3 separate regions of the Homo sapiens genome follow, and all the other regions are linked to region 3. The links are contacts of gene promoters, found by promoter capture Hi-C in blood cells and fetal thymus (Javierre and others, 2016). All regions are on one chromosome and are shown on one strand. Each heading gives the region's core, a stretch centred on a gene start or on the middle of the fragment in contact. The rest is flanking DNA. Distances are from core to core; before and after follow the strand shown. Region 1 overlaps HENMT1 (HEN methyltransferase 1). Region 2 holds the start of EEIG2 (EEIG family member 2). Region 3 holds the start of SLC25A24 (solute carrier family 25 member 24).

Region 1 (2,977 bases), core at 353-2,852, 460 kb after region 3:
AGCAGAAAAAGAAAGCTTTCATCTAGAAATTCACCTTACCCGCATCTAATTCACATCCAATCCATTAGTATAGTAACCAGGTATGGATGGATGGATGTAGATTATATGCAATTATGACTTTACTCTGAAGTTAACCGAGTAGGTTCATTATGATCTAATTTTCTTTTTGAGACGGGCTCTTTCTCTGTTGCCCAGGCTGGAATGCAGGTGATAACAGCTCACTGCAGCCTCAACCTCCTGGGCTCAAGGGATCCTCCCACCTCAGCCTCCTGAGTAACTGGGACTATAGGCACGCACCACCATGCACAGCTAATTTTATTTTTTGTAGACACAGGGTCTCACTATGGTGCCAGGCTGGTCTCAAGCTAGCCACCTGCCTCAGCCTCCCAAAGTGCCGGAATTACAGGTGTAAACCATTGCACCCGGCCCATTATCATCTAATTTTAAAAGAACCACAATACCTGTGGCTACAATACCAGTTTGCCTGATATTCTAACTAAATGCTCTAGAAGTACGGTACCTACAAGATCACATCCAACTATAAAATCTTAAGATTTTCTTCACATTTGAACCTGACAATGCTGAATTCTGTCTGAGCCCTGTGTTTCTGGCATCTGCTAAAGGAATCCACCTGTGCTTTGTGTTCCAGGAAAGGGCTCACTGCAAAAAACCACCCTCCTCCATAAAACTTAGATAAGATTCCTTGTGTTTCCATTCTTTGCCTCAAATGATTATCATGAATACTTGTCCCCACTGATCAATGGGAAGAAAATTCCTTTTTTAACCATACTTTATTCAAACTTTACTTCTTCCCCCAGGGCCCTGCACTACAGCCTGAGGAAACAGCCCCCTCCTTAAGGCTCCCCATTCCACTGTCCTTTCAAACCACCCTCTCATCCCACCTCCCTAGTTTCTAGCTTTGTTCACTTCTCCAGTAAAAGAAAAACCCCTTTTGCTTAACTCTTGAGACACCTGCAGATCTTGTGGTTACGGCATTCTCCCTATTGCAATAACCCCTGTGAAAAGTCTCTCCATACTAATCCATTTGACAAAACACCTCATATGACTAGTCTACTAGTCTTAATAATTAAATGTTTGGAAAGAGAAATACCTACCTTCTTAGGCTCATGTTGATCCACTAAATTTTTAACGAACTGGTACCGCTGTCTGTATAGTGGAGGTTTAAACTGAATTGCCGTCTCCCTGGGAACTTCTTCAAAATTACCGTCAACCACACTACTGCACTGAAGTTCACAAACAAAAAAAGACAGGTTCTAAATCATGCATGACTTCAGAAATTAAATAAGGGGCAAAAAAAAAAAAACTTTATTTCCCCCAATCACTTTGAAAAACACACTGGCCTTCACATACCCTTTGTCCTAAAATCATTAGGTAGCACTGCATTTCCTCCACAGTTCATGTAAGCATCCTCTCATGCCTTTTAACAAGAGAGAATCTAGCTGTATGCTCCCTATAGCTTAGTTTCAGCTGAAGGGAACATTACCAATGAATGTATTCAATGAAAACAATTAGATGACTCCTAACCATAAGGGACCTTTTGTGGAGTGAGTCGCCAAAGCCTGTGGTCCAAGTAGGCAGGAGGCTGGAAAATATTTATAATGACTGACTATATATATATACACACACACATATATATACACACACACACACACATATATGTACACACACTTACACACACACACATATATATACACACACACACACATATATATGTACACACACACACACACACACACACATATATACACACACACACACACACATATATATATATATATTTTTTTTTTCCCCCCAAGACGGAGTCTTGCTCTGTCACCCAGGCTGGAGTGCAGTGGCGCGATCTCAGCTCACTGCAACCTCCGCCTCCCTCAATTCAAGCAATTCTCCTGCCTCAGCCTCCCGAGTAGCTGGGATTACATTACAGGCATGCGCCACCATGCCTGGCTAATTTTTGTATTTAGTAGTGACGGGTTTCACCATGTTGGCCAGGCTCTTCTTGAACTCCTGACCTCGTGATCCACCCGCCTTGGCCTCCCAAAGTGCTGGGATTACAGGTGTAAGCCACCACACCCAGCCAACACTCTTTTTAAGAGAGAGAGAGGATCTCACTATGTCGCCCAGGCTGGTTTAAAATTCCTGGGCTCAAGCAATCCTCTGGCCTCGGCCTCCTGAGTAGTTGGGCATCTGTAGGAACATTCCAACACACCAGCAAAAGACTCTCTCACTGACCAAACTTCAGTCAGGTTCCTCTGAGCCATCTTCTTGAATAGACCTCAAACCCTGGCCCCAATCCTATCTTTGGGCTGCCTAGCCCAGTTTTAATAAGAATACTTCTAAGTCAGTTTAGACAGAATCTTCTACCCCTGATATCTGATCACCCTATCTGGTCAAATTCTTCATCTTTGCAATGTTCTTATTGCAACAGTCCTCAATAAAGTCAGACTAATTTTTTCTTTAACATGACCCCAAGAAAAAACAGAATTTATAAGATTAATCTGTAATAGCTGTTACTATTCCTATACAGCAGTATTATAAAAGTAGTCCAAAGGGTATTTGATATCTGATGTAGCACTGTCCAATAGATAAAATACAAGTAGGCAACTTTCTTGTAGCCCAAGAATTGGAATTATAATCGGAATTAGAATATTTAAACCAATATATCGAAAATATAATTTTTACATAAAATCAATATAAGAGATTTTAGATTCTTGTTTTTCACATTAAGTCTTCAAAATCCAGTGTGCTACATATTTTGTACTTCTGCGTCTCAGTTCCAAAACCTTCATCAGAAATACTTGTCTGTATTGGATTTAAAAACTTTACATTTAAAATATACATGCACATACCCAAGTTATTCCAAACATACTTTTTTCCAATAATGTAATCAAATATCCAATTTTAAACTTAAAATTAAAAATGAAGTTATGAGCCCAGGTGGTCAGCGTTGCAGTTAACC
Region 2 (2,724 bases), core at 41-2,540, 360 kb after region 3:
TTACCAATGACCTCCTAGACCTTCAATTCAGTAGCTTCTTTTCAGTCCAAATCCTCTGGGACTGCTCTGCAGCACTCTCTTGAAATGGTCCTCTGTCCTACATGGATCACAGATTGCTCTCTCTCTTTCTTTCTCTCTCTCTTCTCTCTCTCACACACACATACTCACATACCACACACACACACTTTAGTTGATCTGTTTGCATATCTCTGTTTTTCTCCATTCCTTTATAAGCCCCTATGTCTTATTCATTTGCATCTCTAGTACCCAGCATAGTGCCTGGCACACAATAGAACTTTGTAACTACGAATGTTACATGATTAAAACCGTCTGGGCTTCCAGGCCATCTCTTTCTTCATCTCCTTTTTCTCTTGACTGCTTGTTCTTAGGCACCTTCACGATCTCCTCTTTGCCTACCCTTTAAATATTCTTCAGAGTAACTCATCCTTATCCACCTTTTGGGCTTCAGCCATCAGCGATTACCTCAATTCCCAAATGTATATTTTCAATTGCCAATGCATTTTTATGAGCTAAGGCTGCCTCTCTCTCCCTAGATGTACTGCAAGCAGATCCCATAAAGACTCATTATCTCTTCCATTCCCAACCTGCCCTCCTCTTGCTTTCAATGTTCAGTCAATGAAATTAACATTCATCCAGTGCTCTAAATGACAAATCTCAAAGTCCCCAAATGCATCTCACTGTCTTTGCCCCCTGTCCTGCAGGGTAAGAAGCTTTATCCATTACCAAATCCCCACCCCCGAACCTGCCTCTGAATCTTTTTTTTTTTTTAATTTATTTCTCCTAGAACAACTTACCCCACTTTGTCCCAAATCATTTTCATCCTTTGAAATTCAGAAAACTGATTAACTTCAATTAATTGCTTCTCTGAGTTCTACATAGCTTGGTGCTAGGTTGTGTTTTTTTAATGACCTGTCTAAACATGTCTTCCTCACTAGATTGTAAAATTCTTGAGGGCAGTTATTGGCTTTTGGTTATGGGGTCTAGCCGATGATTGACATTTTAAGCAATTTTTTTATATGAATGAATGAGTAAACGAGTAAACTGAGAAAGAAAATATTTTCAATTAAACCCTTTCAGAATTACTGTGGCAGAATCTGAGTGAAAATGACAATAACTCAGTTTAAAAACATGAACATCACGTAACCAACTTTGTAACATTCATTGTAACAATACATGCATGATTACAGAAGGCAGGTAATTGTTATTCCCCTAGGGAGATTTTTTTTTAAGCCTGCTCTGAAGATTTTGTTTTGTTTTTAAGACAGGGGCTTGTTCTGTTGCCCAGGCTAGAGTGCAGTGGCGCGATCTCCGATCATTGCAAGCTCCGCTTCCCCGGCTCAGGCTAACCTCCCTCCTCAGCCTCCCGAGTAGCTGGGATTACAGCGTAGCCATGCCAGACTGCCTGCAGAATTTGATTTTAAGCATTTCAGTTCTCAGTATAGACAGACAAATTTTTAAAGGGAGGGTATTATTTTAACTGCTTCTTTGCTCTTTTATCTTTTGTCCTGGGTGACAGGAACTAGATAAGCTATACCCCAGAGAAAGCGCCTGCAGCAGTACGGTGCCTGGGCCCTTGATAGTCCCTCAGCACATCATTTTCCTTTTTCCTACCTTATCTTCCTTTTATATTTGAAGGCTCGTGAATTTAGAGTACCTAACGGAAATTTTAGTTTTAGGATTTCAATTTGACCAAAACAACGCTGAGATTTTAATTGCCTCTATTAACCCATGGCTCTCAAACCCAAAGGAAAGAAACCACTGGAGGGGGTGGGGGAGAAAGGAGGCGGTGCAAAAACTGAAAAGAAAGGCGGAGAGGAAGCGGTAGAAGGAAGCTTTCTCTGTCGGGTTTGTCTTTTTTTAACCCCAGAAAGGCGTGACGTGCTAACTGCCGTCGCGGGTTAGAGTCCGCGGCCAAGCCCGCGCCCGCCCACAAAGTCCCCGCCCTCCCTCCGGCTTCCGCCCCGCCGTGCGCTGCAGGCCGCGGCCGCTGGGGGCGCCCCCGACCCCCGAGGCGCTGAGGCGGCGGTTCCTCGAGCCTCGCCTCTCCCGACTCCCAGACGGGCGGCAGCGGCGGCGGAGGCGGCGGCGGCGGCGGCGGCGAGCTGAGCACCAAAAGGGCGCTCACCTCCCCGGGCGAGCTGCAGCACGACCGCTCCCCGCGGGCGGTCGGGGTCCGCGCCGCAGCTGCCGCCGCGTTCCGGCCCAGGCTGCCGCGAGAGGCGGCGGCAGCGGCCCCGGCCGCGGCCGGCCTGCGGCGCCCCCCGGCCGCGCCCCCGCGCACAGCTCGCGGCCCCGGCCATGGGGCTGGGCTGATCCGGGGCTCGGCCAAGCTGAGGCGGCGGCGCCCGGCCGTGCGCCCAGCTTGCAGGCGCCTGGCTCTCACGATGATGAAGAAGAAGAAGTTTAAGTTTAAGGTGGACTTCGAGCTCGAGGAGCTCTCCTCAGTGCCCTTCGTCAATGGGGTCCTCTTCTGCAAGATGCGGCTGCTGGACGGCGGCAGCTTCACCGCCGAGTCCTCCAGGTAACTCGCCTCCCGCGCCGCCTCGCCCCTTTCTGCTTGGCCAGGGCTTGTTGGATGGGCAGCATCTCTCCTTGGCCCATTTGCTCGCCTTTCCCTAGGGACCGCTCTAAAATCAGTCGAATTTATTGATCTGCAAAGTGCTTTGCAAATGGGTTCTTCTCAGCTGGCCTTGGTTCCTGCGC
Region 3 (2,785 bases), core at 286-2,785:
TGATGCACTGCAGCAAGGTCGTCCCTTTCCTGGGCTGCTTCCAGCCAATGATTGGACATGGTGGGGAACTCCAACTGGGCCATTTCTGGGACAATCAGCACAAAGTACCAAAAGTTGGTTCCTTCAAAGTATGAATAAAATACACAAAACTTTGGCAAGATTGAAGGGGAGAAAAGGATAGATATGAGGAATGAAATAGAGAACCTACCTACAGATTCAGTCAGAAGTGTTATAAAATCATCGGTGAGTATTATGAACCTTGGACAGAACAGGCAGTTTCAAAAAAAATTGTAACTTACTAAATCTGACTCTAGAAGAAACAGTAAACTGAAGAGGCCTATAACTACCAAAGACATTAAAAGAGAAGTGAAATATAACTATATAACAGTTGTTGGCCCTCATAGTAACCTAATCACTTTCCCTCTTTGGATAAGAGAATGCCAGTGTCAGGGAACGCTTCAACAGGGTTGGAGAAGTTCCACATATCTCCACCCTACTAAAGGGGCAGAAGTTCAGGGGCACAGTTAAGATGACTCAGAGAAAATGAAATTGCTCAGTCGCAGGTCAAGTCAACCCTTCAGATCAATTTATGTACCTAGGGCATTAACCTAGGAATGTCTTAAACAATGGAATGCCGCCATTCCTTCTCAACAGGAAGTGGGGGAAACACGCGATTGGTTTTCAAACAGTTTTCAAACAGTAGACAATACACATAGCTGCTGTAACAAAGCAGCTTCGAAAGAGATCGAATGTGTGCGCCTTTATACAAAACTTGGGACCCACTGAAGTCTGACAGCTAAAACGGATTACATGTCTGCAAGGTATTAAAACAGAAAACAAAGAACCTGGGATGGATTCAGGACAAAAGTGTCTTAAAAATTTAACAGTGCCCGTGGGCCAGAGTGTCCACAACACTCATTTTATCTGGACAAATACCAGTAGACTTTCGTATTATGACCCACTTCTGTTACCGGGGTCGCCGGTCGCGGCCCCACGCCCGAGTTTCTGAAGCCACCGGAGCGCTGGGCGCCACAGTTCCTCCTTCCTCTCCTGGCAACGCCTCAAGCCGCCGCCCTCCTCGGTCCTCGCAGTGTCCCCAGCGCCCGCAGCCCTCCCTACGCTCAGGCGGCGCCCCGGCGGCGACCCACCTCCTCGGCGTCCTGGCCCAGAGGGATGCCCAGGTTCCTGAGCCCCTCCTGCAGCTCGCCGATGTCCACCACTCCGTCCCCATTGCGGTCCAGTGCCTGGAAGAGGGTCTCGTAGCGCGTCGGCTGCTCCGCGTCCTGGCAGGCCGCGGTGGGCAGCACGAAGTCCCGCAGCCAGCGCAACATGGTCCCAGAGGCGCAGGCGGCCTGGCCGAGGAAGTCACGGGAGATCGAGGGCTGCGGGGCGAGACCGGGACCAGCGCGAGGCCGGGCTGGGCGGGGCGCGCGGCGCAACAGCGTTTGGGGCGCCGTCGGGGTTGCGGCTGCGGCGCGCAGGGCGCAGGGCGCAGGAGCGGAGACCCCACCCGAGCCCGCGCGGAGCGCAGGGTGTGGCCGTCCCGCCGCTGCTGGGGAGGAGCTCGCCGCGCTGGCCTCGGCGGCACTGGCCGGGCCCGCCTCCAGAGAGCCGGAAGTGAGGGAGCTGGGAGCTGGGTCTCGGGAGGTGCTGTGCGGACCCGGGGTCGACCTCTGCCCAGTTGCCAGTCCCGCTGTCAGCATGCGGGTCCGAGGAAGAGGCCCCCAGCAGGTCCAGGGCTGCAGCGTCAGCGCGTCGGTGGCTTGGGAGCGGGGTCTTGAAGACTGGTTACTCCACTTAAAGACCCTCTCGGGCCGGAGCCTTGGCGGTCAGCCCAGAGCTGCTTCTCTCTGCCTGGAAACTGGGCCATGGAGGGCATTGTCTCTCACGGATGTCTAATTTTTTCGTGGTTGCACACCTGGGATGGCGATTCTGCTTTAAAAAGCAGAGAGTTAAATCCTAAAGCATCTATTGGAGCAATTATAAAACAAAAAGGAGAAACTCCTGGATTTGTTGCAGAAAAGATCAACAGCCATCTGCGTGGGCAACGGGGAAAAGAAGGACTAGTTTGGTAGGCAGCTTAGCTAGGATTTGCCCGTGATTAAGCGTATAGAGTGTCTGCCAGCTGCACTTATCAGAAAAAACCACAGCGCCCTCCTCCTTCTCAAGATGGGTGCAGTTCCGAGGTTTGGAGCTTATTACTCAGGCAAGACAGAACTTATTACTGCCTAGCATGGAATAACGGAAGGAACATTGGACTTAACAGAGAAAGTACCTAATCCTTCAGGTGTGACATAGCGTCTCCGGGTAGTCTCTCATCAGTAAAATGAGAATATAAATATCTGCCTTCACAACAAAGTTGTATATTAGGTGTGAAAGGTCTTAATTCTCTAAGGCGCCAATCAAATGAGATATCATTAATTGTAATAATCCTGTTCATTCACAGCTGCGTAAGAGGAACTATTGTTGTACTGCTGTTTGCAGAAAAGAAGATACCTCTGTACTTGTAAATTAGGGTGTCTCACATCTTCTGAATCACTACACAGAAATCAGTTCCAACAACAGCCAGGAACTCAGACCCTGAACTTACCTCTCCTCATATCATTTTGTATGTTTAAGATATGTATGAATCTAGAATTTGTAAATTAAGGGCTGCCTGCTTAGTAAAATCATCTTGAAACTGATTTATCTTTTTATATTACTTCCAACTTCCAGTCTTATTAAGAATCATTGCCTTCCTTTGGAACTGCCTTCAAACTTCAAATTTTCTCTGTCCTTGAAAACC

Evidence for each region. The method cuts DNA at HindIII sites, captures the fragments that hold promoters and counts their contacts. A CHiCAGO score of 5 or more calls a contact.
Region 1: a fragment that was not itself captured here is called in contact with the fragment with the promoter of SLC25A24 in region 3 in 1 of 17 cell types (non-activated CD4 T cells); the score reaches 5.3 in non-activated CD4 T cells.
Region 2: a fragment that was not itself captured here is called in contact with the fragment with the promoter of SLC25A24 in region 3 in 3 of 17 cell types (total CD8 T cells, M0 macrophages and naive CD4 T cells); the score reaches 8.3 in total CD8 T cells.

Annotation. Positions count from the first base shown.
Region 1 is chr1:108,656,336-108,659,312 of GRCh38, forward strand. HENMT1 (HEN methyltransferase 1) reads right to left here. Exons shown (of 8, transcript NM_001102592.2): 3 at 1,116-1,244. Among named protein-coding and RNA genes, the nearest start is that of HENMT1, 3.3 kb to the right of the region's middle. The HindIII fragment of the contact is 3,179 bases long and covers 14-2,977 here.
Region 2 is chr1:108,558,024-108,560,747 of GRCh38, forward strand. EEIG2 (EEIG family member 2) reads left to right here and starts at 2,077. Exons shown (of 11, transcript NM_001010883.3): 1 at 2,077-2,542. The coding sequence starts at 2,406. RefSeq lists a silencer at 1,738-2,277 and an enhancer at 2,668-2,724. The HindIII fragment of the contact is 1,122 bases long and covers 730-1,851 here.
Region 3 is chr1:108,198,808-108,201,592 of GRCh38, forward strand. SLC25A24 (solute carrier family 25 member 24) reads right to left here and starts at 1,536. Exons shown (of 10, transcript NM_013386.5): 1 at 1,149-1,536. The coding sequence starts at 1,331. RefSeq lists a silencer at 1,320-1,659 and an enhancer at 1,460-1,754. The HindIII fragment of the contact is 7,151 bases long and covers 1-2,785 here.